Regions from separate parts of the Homo sapiens genome. Here all the other regions are linked to region 1. The links are contacts of gene promoters, found by promoter capture Hi-C in human tissues and cell types (Jung and others, 2019). All regions are on one chromosome and are shown on one strand. The core of a region is centred on a gene start or on the middle of the fragment in contact, and the rest is flanking DNA. Distances in the headings are between cores, read along the strand shown. Region 1 holds the start of ZNF211 (zinc finger protein 211). Region 2 holds the start of ZNF814 (zinc finger protein 814). Region 3 has its middle 5.1 kb from the start of ZNF548.

What was found. Contacts are between HindIII fragments. The study calls those that stand out against the background at their distance.
Region 2: the fragment with the promoter of ZNF814 here is called in contact with the fragment with the promoter of ZNF211 in region 1 in 4 of the 25 tissues and cell types used here (heart left ventricle, pancreas, small bowel and 1 more).
Region 3: a contact is called between a fragment that was not itself captured here and the fragment with the promoter of ZNF211 in region 1, in 6 of the 25 tissues and cell types used here (H1 embryonic stem cells, aorta, dorsolateral prefrontal cortex and 3 more).

Annotation. Positions count from the first base shown.
Region 1 is chr19:57,631,279-57,634,734 of GRCh38, reverse strand. It overlaps ZNF211 (zinc finger protein 211), which reads right to left and starts at 1,567. Exons shown (of 4, transcript NM_006385.5): 1 at 1,299-1,567; 2 at 674-712; 3 at 1-106. The coding sequence starts at 1,388. RefSeq lists a silencer at 1,248-1,317 and enhancers at 1,758-1,807, 1,878-1,967. The HindIII fragment of the contact is 12,794 bases long and covers 560-3,456 here.
Region 2 is chr19:57,887,363-57,890,818 of GRCh38, reverse strand. ZNF814 (zinc finger protein 814) reads left to right here and starts at 1,782. Exons shown (of 3, transcript NM_001144989.2): 1 at 1,782-2,052. The coding sequence starts at 2,017. RefSeq lists enhancers at 2,072-2,121, 1,795-2,337, 2,338-2,881, 2,906-3,456. The HindIII fragment of the contact is 24,676 bases long and covers 1-3,456 here.
Region 3 is chr19:57,383,062-57,386,517 of GRCh38, reverse strand. No RefSeq gene overlaps it. Among named protein-coding and RNA genes, the nearest start is that of ZNF548, 5.1 kb to the left of the region's middle. The HindIII fragment of the contact is 6,124 bases long and covers 1-3,456 here.

The sequences.
Region 1 (3,456 bases), core at 318-2,817:
AGTTCTCCAGCATCACATCGAAGTACAGGTGTTTCTGAGCCTCATCAAGGAGATCCCATTCCTCCCAGGAGAAGTACACGGCCACATCTTCAAAGGTCACACTTCCCTAGCATAATAGGGATTGATGAAACCATGAACAGTCTCAATTTGGAAGACTCAAAATCCATGTCCCCATACATTCTCCTCCCAAGATCCCCAAGTCAGAAGAGACACCAGACCTTGGTGTCATTGATCCCTGCTGTCTCTTCACATTCCCATTAGTCACTGTGTTCATTCTGTTTTCCACTCTGTATCCTGTCAACACTTGGGTTAGATAAATCTCCCTCCTCTGATCCCAAACTCCAACTTCCTCACAATAGATGCCAAACTTCACAGAAATAAAGGAAACCTGCAGTTCCCTGAACCAGCTCAGCCTCACCTCCAAGGAGTTCCAAAAGCTGGTACCTACCTGTTTCTATCATAAATTTTCACCCATCTTTCCATTGGCTGCTCCAAATGGAAACATTGGCCTGGACTCAGGGCCCTTAGCTCAGGGATTCTCCAGGGTTCCCAAACCAAACGCTGAGAGAATGGTAGGTGAGTCCCATGACACCACAAATCTAAAGAAAATATCTGTCTGGGGAGGGTGGAGGGACATTCCAGACCAGTGAGGGGCTGAGATACCTCCACTTACCTGTGTAAGTTTGAAAAGCACCTCTGTAGCTATGGGAACCTGTGGAAAGACGCAGGCCTCAGAGGAATGTGATCATGGCAGTGCTCCATGGGCACAGGCCTTCCCTGTACCCTTGCCCCGGCCCAGAGCCACGTAACTTTGGGTCGACTGTCTAACCTGTGCGCCTCGGTCCTTAGTGCTGCCTCTCACCAGTTGTGTGGCCTTGGAAAAATATTCAACCTCCCTCTGCCTCAACGTCCTCATCCATCTCTAAAGTCTTTTCTTCCACTGAACAGCCTGCAGAGGATTTTTCAAATTTAACTCAGATGGTGTCTCTCGTTTGCGCAAGCTCTCTATGGCTCCCACGGCCCTAAGAATAAAGGTAGATCTCTCTCAAACTTTGTTCCCTGCAGTAACAATGTGGAGCCCAGGTTCCTGAATGCCCCCTTCTCGGTTGCCCGTCCAAGCCCTGCACGCGCCGGTCCTGTCCCTTGTCCCCCTGCCCACCACATCGGATGTCAGAAATAGGGGCCCCACCCACGAGCCTCAGTGTCCCCGACCCTGTGCTACAGAGACGTGAGCTGGTGCCTCTCACTTGGGACTTAAGAATCTCGGCCGGGGGAGGCCCGGAGATCGCAGCGCTCACCGAAGCCGGGTCCCTCAGTGCGGTCGCCATCCGAGTCTGTGGGCGGAGCTGGACCGGGAGCTGCGGGCGACCCGGGGGGAACCCGAGCATCGCTATCCCCAGGCCGGCCTCGCGGGCGGCTCTGCCCCCGACCCTCAGACCTGACTCTCGCGCCTTCACGGTCCGTCACTTCGATCCCGATGCAGCGTACCAAAGCGGCTGACAGACAGAACGGACCTCCGGGAGGGCAGCCAAAATGACCGCTGCGAAGACGCCACAAGTCCCGCCCTGGGGGGGGCGGGGGTAGACCCACACGGAAATGCCCCTGTCTTGGATTTTCATTGGATCAAAGTACTGCCGCTCGACGCAAGGCTTTCTGGGTAATGTAGTCTCCCCCAGGCTGCGACGGAGGGCGCCTTGTGTGCAGACAGCTGGGAGCGCTAGGAAGCTGCGTCTGCTGCCTTCCAGGGCGACTGAGGGGCTTCGGTGTTTGAGGTCTTAAGTAGGTTGACACTTGAACAACACAGGTTTGAGCTGTGCGGGTCCATTTACACGTAGGCGTTTTTTTTCCCCAATAAACGTTACTTCGAGTGTGCTCCTTTTCCTGCCTCTTCCAGCTCCCCGACCTCTTGCCCCAGAGACAGCAAGACCTCATTCTCTTGCCCAGCATGAAGAACACAAGGATGAAGACCTTTATGATGATCCACTTCCACTTAATGATTAGTAAATGTATTTTCCCTTCCGTATTCTTTTATTTTCCTTTTTTTAATTGGGTGTAATGTCAACGAGCCTCTTACAATTTTCCTGATACCCTTTCTCTGGTCTGTTTTAGTACAAGTATAGTTCTTATACTAAAATATATATAATGCATATATCATACAAAATGCATATATCATATATATTATGCATATATCATGCATATATCATACAAAATGTGTTAATCGACTGGGAGTTTATGTAATTCATAAGGCTTCCGGGCAACTTCATAAGGCTTCCGGGCAACAGTTGGCTATTAGTAGTTAAGACCTAGGGGAGTCAAAAGTAATACAAGCATTTTCAATTCCGCAGGGGTCGGTATCCCTGACCCCTGCGTCGTTTAAGGGTCAGCTGTATATCAGTCTCTAGTGTAGAGGTTCACTTCAGTATTTAGACATCATTTCAGATTCCATGCAGCCCACCCCAGCAGATCTCCACTGGTAGTGGGAAGCGAAAAAACGTTATCTTATTGCTCTTCAAATGCATGCAGCCTGAAGTGTTAAAGTCACTTTTTGTAGGTTTTGTCAGGGACAAAAGACACCAGACAGGGCTACAATGGGAAGATAGTGGAGGGATAGTGGGCAGCCCTGAAGCCAACGGACAAGGGAAGTTCCCTGCTTCTGGTGCCCCCAGAAAACGCTCTCCTGCCTGCAAAGTCAGTTTTGTTCATAAAACATGAAGCTTTAATACATGAATGTTCATTTTCCTTGTATAATCAAAACATTTAATTTTTTTTTGAGACAGGGTCTCACTCTGTTGTCCAGGCTGGAGTACAGTGGAACAATCATAGCTCATTGCAGCCTCCACTTCCTGGGCTCAAGTGATCCTCCCACCTCAGCCTCTTGAGTAGCTGGCACTACAAGCACACCACCACACCCGGCTAGTTAAAAAAAAAATTATTGTAGGAATGGAGTCTCCCTATAGGGCCCAGGCTAGTCTCAAACTCCTAGGGCCATGCAATCTTCTTGCCTCAGCCTCCCAAACTGCTGAGATTACAAGCATGAGTCACCATGCCCAGACAAAAGTTTTTAATGCATAAAATATCAAATTATTATCATTATTTTAAACAGGGCCTCACTCCGTCGCCCAGAAAGTTTATATTATTTTAAGGTACATATATGCACATTGTTAAATGTACACATATACATTTTATATATATTAGATAGATCAAATTTTACGTTTCACAATAAAAATGATCCTTTAGGACAAATTAATACCAGTAAAATAAAATAAAATTAAAAGTTGTGAAATGATTTTATCAAATATATAATGTATTTGTTTACACATTTACTACAAAAATTTATAAGTGGAATGACTACTATTGTACATCTGGTTAGATCTCACAATGGGCTTGTCATTGTTTTTAGGAAAAAGGTTAGAGTTCTTGGCTGGGCCTATATTACAGAACCAACCATTACATATT
Region 2 (3,456 bases), core at 533-3,032, 260 kb before region 1:
TCCCAATTCCTGTTAACTTACTGATTTATTAGGGCCCCATAGATTAGAAATTATCATTTAGGAGTCATGCAGCCAGGGGCCACAAGACTGTAAACATCCCCAGTTGTTCCTAGGGATGGTATCACCATTGCAAAAGCTAAGATTGGTGCTGGAGATATTTTTCAGACCCTGAACTTGATGGATCTGATGGCACCACTCAGATGGGTAAACTGGCTTATCTGGTCTTGTGCCTCCCTCTCCCCCAGAACCCACTCAGCACAAGAGAACAACTTTGACTCCCTATGATTTCATCTCCAACCCAACCAATCAGCATTCCCCAATTCATGGCCCCCTATCTACCAAATTATCCTTAAAAAACCCCAGTCTCAGGAGGCGGAGGTTGCAGTGAGCTGAGATCGTGACATTGCACTTCAGCCTGGGCAACAGGAGCAAAATTCTGTCTCAGAAAACAAACAAACAAATAAACAACAACAACAACAAAAAACCCCAGTCTCGCAATTTTCAGGGAGACTGATTTGAGTAATACTAGTAAGACTCCAGTATGCTGTTCATCCAACTCTGTGTGAATAAAACTCTTTTTCTTTTGCAATTTCCCTGTCCTGATAAATTGGCTTTATCTGGGCAGTAGGAAAAATGAACCCTCTGGGTGTTTACACGTTCATTTTAACAATACAATAATGGTTATTAATCTTTGCATTAATCTTTGCTTCCAGTGGAAGAATTTTGCATCTGAAGGACCATCTGAAATGATAGGTGAATTTGGATCTGTAGCCTTTGGGAACATCTACACTAACTCTGAAATAATATTTTTCCATACACTAGGGTAATCAGTTACAGCCAATAACCCCAAGAAATCTCAATGTGAGTTCTAAGGAGAGGCAGGATGATCCTCTGCCTAGGAGAAAGATCTGCAATCTTTTATTTATTTTTTTATTTTTATTTTTATTTTTTTTTCCAACATGGAGTCTTGCTGTGTCACCCAGGCTGGAGTGCAGTGGCAGGATCTCACTCACCGCAACCTCTGACTCCCATGTACAAGAGATTCTCCTGCCTCGGCCTCCCCAGTAGCTGGGATTACAGGCGCATGTCACCATGTGGGTTAATTTTTGTATTTTTAGTAGAGGCGGGGTTTCACCATGTTGGCCAGGCCAGTCTTGAACTCCTGACCTCAGGTGTTCCACCTGCCTCGGCCTCCCAAAGTGCTGGGATTACGGGCGTGAGCCGCCCGCACCTGGCCCTTATTTTTATTTTTTAGATAAGAGGTCTCGTTCTGTTGCCCAGGCTGGAATGCAGTGGTACGATCTCGGCTTACAGCAGCTTCGAACTCCTGAGCTCAAGCGATTCTCCCTCCTCAGGCTCCCTAACCCTAACCCCAACCTTAGGGCAGCTGGGACCACAGGCCCGCCCGACCACACTCCGCTAATATTTTTTATTTTTTGTAGAGACAGGATTTTGCTTTGTTGCTCAGGCTAATTTCTAACTCCTGACCTCAAATGATCCTTGTGACTTGGCCTCCCAAACTGGTGGAATTACAGGCGGGAGCCACCATACCAGTCAGGACGCACATCTTAAGGATACTCCCGAGGTGAAGCTGGGCTTTTCCTGCAGAAGCGCCTCTGGGAATTGCGCCCTTTACCCTCCTTGTTGCCTAGGGAACTACATTACCCAGAAAACTCAGCCTCGAATGATAGCGTAGAAGACCTCTGAGGGCTCAGAATAAAGGCGTTTCCTGTGTGCACGTGACAATGGGTCCGGACTTCCGGCGCCCTCTGGTGGCGGCCATTTTGATTGGTGTTGGATTTATTTGTAGGAGAGGCTCCTGAGCGCTAGGTCCGCACTGTGGTGACTGAACCCAGAAGTCGGGGAGCAGTTGTCCTCCGCTGCACAGAGGCTACTCTGGAGCTCTGTGACGGCGCCCAGCGTGACCCACTCCTGGGCCAGGATACGGACCGTCGTGCCCATATCTCCTGGCTGGTCGCCCTATCCTCCCGACTCTGCTTAAAACCACGTGGTTCGATGGCTGCCGCGGCTACGCTGAGGCTCTCCGCTCAGGTAATTGTGGGGCCTTCTGTGTCCTCAGGTCACCTCATCGTCACCCAAAAGCAGCGAGGTAGCAGCGCCTGTTCACGGCTCTGCAGCCCGGACGCCGGCGTTGGGACACTGAGGCGCTTGCGGGAGGGGCCCCATTTCTGACACCCGTGGGATGCGGTGGGGAGACCGGCAGGTACAGGGACTGGCGCGGGCAAAGGCCTGGAAGTGAACTGAGCCAGAAGGATGGAATCTGGGGTCCACAGGTGCCTGTTGGGAGCAAATTATGAGGCGGAGCTCCTCCTGGAAGAGCAAGCAGGCTGGGGGCTATGAACTCACGTGAGGACCCTAGAAGGCATGGAGATTTTCGAAGAAAGGAGGGATGTCATGAGCATTGTAAGGGTAGAGATAATCAGGTCCATGCATGTTTGTGTCTTTGCACAGTGTCAGGTGATATTTGAGTCAACAAAAGCCATGAGCTAAATGGAGTTCGAAGGAGGCAATTCTCTTGTGATTCCAGTTCACTTGGTAGTTGGCCATGGGCACAGAGGCTGAAGACACTCCCCAAGTCAGTCAATATAGCAAACAATACACAATAGTATACTTAACATGTAAATGTTAAAGGTTAAACATAACACTGTTGTACCCGGGCGAGTTAGAAAAACGCCACACTTTGAGACGAATTAAGAGTCCTTTATTCAGCTGGCGGCCAAAGAGACGGCTAACGCTCAAAATTCTCTCGGCCCCGAGGAAGGGGCTTGATTAACTTTTATACTTTGGTTTAGGAAGGGGAGGGGAGCTTAAATGCAACAACTCTTCAGAAGTAAAAACATGCAAAAAATTAAAAGGATAAATGGTTACAGAGAAACAAACAATTTAAAAGACAAATGGTTACAAAAAGGCAAGGTACCAGGTGTGGCGCTCTAAATCCTTCATAAGAGTTAGATATGGGCACTACGCCAGACACAAACTCAAGGCTTTATGGTGTTATCTTTTGAGCAAAATCCTGGGAACTTCATACATGGTTTGTTCCCAGTCCCTTATCAGTTAATTGGACTCCTTTGATATGTTGAGAATCTGCTTACACAAGTTAACTCCTTGAGGAAAGGGGGGTGGGTAAGGAGTCCTTAATGTCTTGTAAATCAAGGGGGCCAGGTGGAGCTCGTCTGGCTTTCTCAGCTAAGCGAGAGTCTATTCATGTGGAAACGAGGCTAGGTGATTAAGAGAGCAAAAGGGAGAGTCTAAAAACAGGATTAGTGAAAACAAGGTTGGGCATTACAACACAAGGAACAAAATAATGCTTAGCATCAAGAGGAAAAAGATATAGGAGCAAACGTTATGGAACCAGTTTAGAGGGAGCAAGGAAGACAAAAGGCATCTTGGTCTGGGCCAGTTGGTGGGCAATTGGCCTGCAGTCTTACAAGGAAG
Region 3 (3,456 bases), core at 290-2,789, 250 kb after region 1:
TGAAAGCCAGTTGGTAAATGGTTGCATTTACACTAACATACCTGAAAGTCCATCAGTCTTTCAACTCTGCTGCTTCTGAAAGTCCTCAGTCCCTGAAGGCCAGCCTTCCTAAAAGCTCATATAATAGCAGTTTTGGCTTTGTTTGAGGAGACTGCCTGACCACTACAGCTCTGCCCTGCAGACAAATAGGAATATCACTTTTTTTCCCTTGAGATATCAAAATCTATTTATTCTTTTTTTTTTTTTTGAGACGGAGTCTCACTCTGTCGCTGGGCTGGAGTGCAGTGGTGTGATCTCGGCTCACTGCAACCTCCGCCTCTCCGGTTCAAGTGATTCTCCTGCCTCAGACTCTCAAGTAGCTGGAACTACATATGCACGCCACCACGCCCAGTTAATTTTTTTGTATTTTTAGTAGAGACGGGATTTCACCATGTTGGCCAGGATGGTCTCGATCTCTTGACCTCATGATCCGCCTGCCTCGGCCTCCCAAAGTGCTGGGATTACAGGCATGAGCCACCACGCCTGGCCCCATTTATTCTTAATTGAATATAAATTATTACTTATATTTTAATTATATGAATATAATTTAAAAGTTTGCAAGCTTTCAATGGTTCCATCTGTTTGTAATTAGTTATGAGTTTGGATATGAAATGGTAGACTAACTGACCCAGACATACATTGTAAAATCCAACGTTTTCTCCAGTGTTTTCTTTTTTCTTTCTTTTCTTTTTTTTTTTTAAGATACAGTTTCACTCTGTCACCCAGCTGGAGTGCAGTGGCGCAATCTCGGCTCACTGCAACCTCTGGCTCCCAGGTTCAAGTGATTCTCATGCCTCAGCCTCCCAAGTAGCTGGGATTACAGGCGCGTGGCACCATGCCTGGCTAATTTTTTGTATTTCTATTAGAGATGGGGTTTCGCCATGTTGGCCATACTGGTCTCGAACTCCTGACCTCAAGTGATCTGTCCGCCTAGGCCTCCCAAAGTGCTGCGATTACAGGCATGAGCCACTGTACCCACAATGTTTTTCAACTCTTGTAGAAGTTGCTATTGTCTATATTTTGAGTATATTGAATGCAAAAAATGTCAAAATGCAAGTTTATAATTTATGATGAACTGAGGAGTATTTAAAATTCCCTTTGAAGGTCTTCGACTCTATGTAATTGCCCATTGACTAATGAAAATGGTGGACAGTCAAATATATATTAACTTTGGAAGGTGCATGATTTTCTCAACTAGTTCCAAAGAAAGAGACAAAATAACTTTTTTGTTAAAATCAGATGGAGATGGTAGAATAATTATAATAGAGTTTGTAATGTTTTCTACACTGTTTATCATCATGAGTCTTTAGGCTCAGAATGCTACTGTTGAGTGTGTTTCTCATTAATGAATGTCCAATAGATAAAGGAATGAAATAAGTTGAATATGACAAATGACGAAGGTTTGTCACAACATAAATGGCATCAAGACTGTAACTGCAGGAATTCTGTAAGCAAATTATATAAAACAAGGAATTGTTAAGTAGAAGCAAATTATCAGGGAAAGAGTTATGTCATTAGAACTGTGATCCCCAAGCTTTTTAGTACCAGGGACCGGTTTTGTGGAAGACAATTTTTCCATGGATAAGGGAGAGGGGTTTGGGGGCAGATGGTTTCAGAGGCATTAGATTCTCATAAGGAGCATACAACCTAGATCCCTCTCTTGTGCAGTTCACAGTAGGGTTTGCACCCCTATGAGAATCTAATGCTGCTGCCGATCTGACAGGAGGCGGAGATCAGGCAGCAATGCTCACTCATCTGCCACTCACCCTCTGCTATATGGCCCCATTCCTAACAGGCCATAGTACTCATCTGTGGCCCCAGGGGTTGGGGACCCCTGATTTAGAATGTATTTCAGATAAACAACAAATAATTTTATGATGAGTATGTCACATACAATATTTATCTTTTATCTCACTGCACATATACATAGGGAATTAGAAATAATTCAAATTTAACCAGGTCAAGTATCAGTTACAAAATTTGACAATTCTTTTCATCGTAATTTTTTTCTGAACCTATGCATTATATTGAGCATCCTCATTTTTGAACCTAGTAACTCATTCACAGAATTTCTGCTACCCTTCTTCTTTTTTCTTTTTTTCTTTTTTTTTTTTTGAGACAGAATCTTGCTCTGTCACCCAGGCTGGAGTGCATTGGCGCGATCTCAGCTCACTGCAACCTCTGCCTCCCGGCTTCAAGCGATTCTTCTGCCTCAGCCTCCTGAATAGCTGAGATTATAGGCGCCCGCCACCATGCCCGGCTAATTTTTTTTTTTGCCCTGTCGCCCAGGCTGGAGTGCAATGGCATGATCTCAGCCCACTGCAACCCCCTCTTCCCGGGTTAAAGCAATTCTCCTGCCTCAGCCTCCCGAGTAGCTGTGATTACAGGCACGCACCACCACGCACAGCTAATTTTTTGTATCTTTAGTAGAGATAGGGTTTCACCATGTTGGCCAGGCTGGTCTCGAACTCCTGACCTTATGATCTGCCTGCCTCGGCCTCCCAAAGTGCTGGGATTACAGGCTTGAGCCACTGTGTCTGGCCACTTCTTCTTAATTGTAAATTCTGCTGGTTGGGGGCCCTTTGTTCCAAGGAAGGAGAGGTTCCACCAGAAGTAAATATTATTACATTTAATTGAAGGGTGATACAGCTACTTGTTCATCTGGGGATCCTTGTGTCACTTAAGCAAGAAGGGATTGCTTTTTTGCTTTGGATGAGTTAGGCTGAGTTGCTGCCATGGAATGGGAAGCATAGAGAGTTATGTCTGAGACCAGGGGATTTCTGGGGGATGTTTTGGTAAGTTCATGTTCAGAAATAAAACTAGCAACTCATCGAAGGGAGGACTTCTAAGAATCAGAAGTTTAGGTTTTGATATTTGGGGACATCCTCCAGGTTAAAAAACAAACAAAACCAAAATGCTACCCAGCTGAAGATCCGGCAGAGGCAGAAGAATGGGATGGTGGGGGGAGGGGGGAGCGGGGAGGAGAATGAAAAATCAATTTTCAACCTAAGACCAGTTAAGAAAACAAGAAATCTCAATATTATAGCTATCTTCCTTGTTTACATGTAAGAAATTGACTATAGAAATCAACAATGGCCAAGCCAAATATAAAACAGAACTCTAACCCACTACTGCACTGACCAGCTCAGGAAGCCAACCTGCTATCTACACTAACCAGATGAGGAAATCTCTCTCCCTCTCTCTCTCTCTCTCTCTCTCTCTCTCACTCAAGAGTTTTAAGAGGACAGATTTATCTCAGGTCTAAAATTCTGCCTTCTTTTGTAGTGCATTACCTGATATCATTGGTTTTGGGGGGTACCAGAGATTACTTTGTCCTGTGAAAGAACTTGACGTTTTTGTGCGTAATGGCTGTCACAAGCAAGAGCTGCAGTGTCAGAAGCAGCTGGTGGCAGTTGT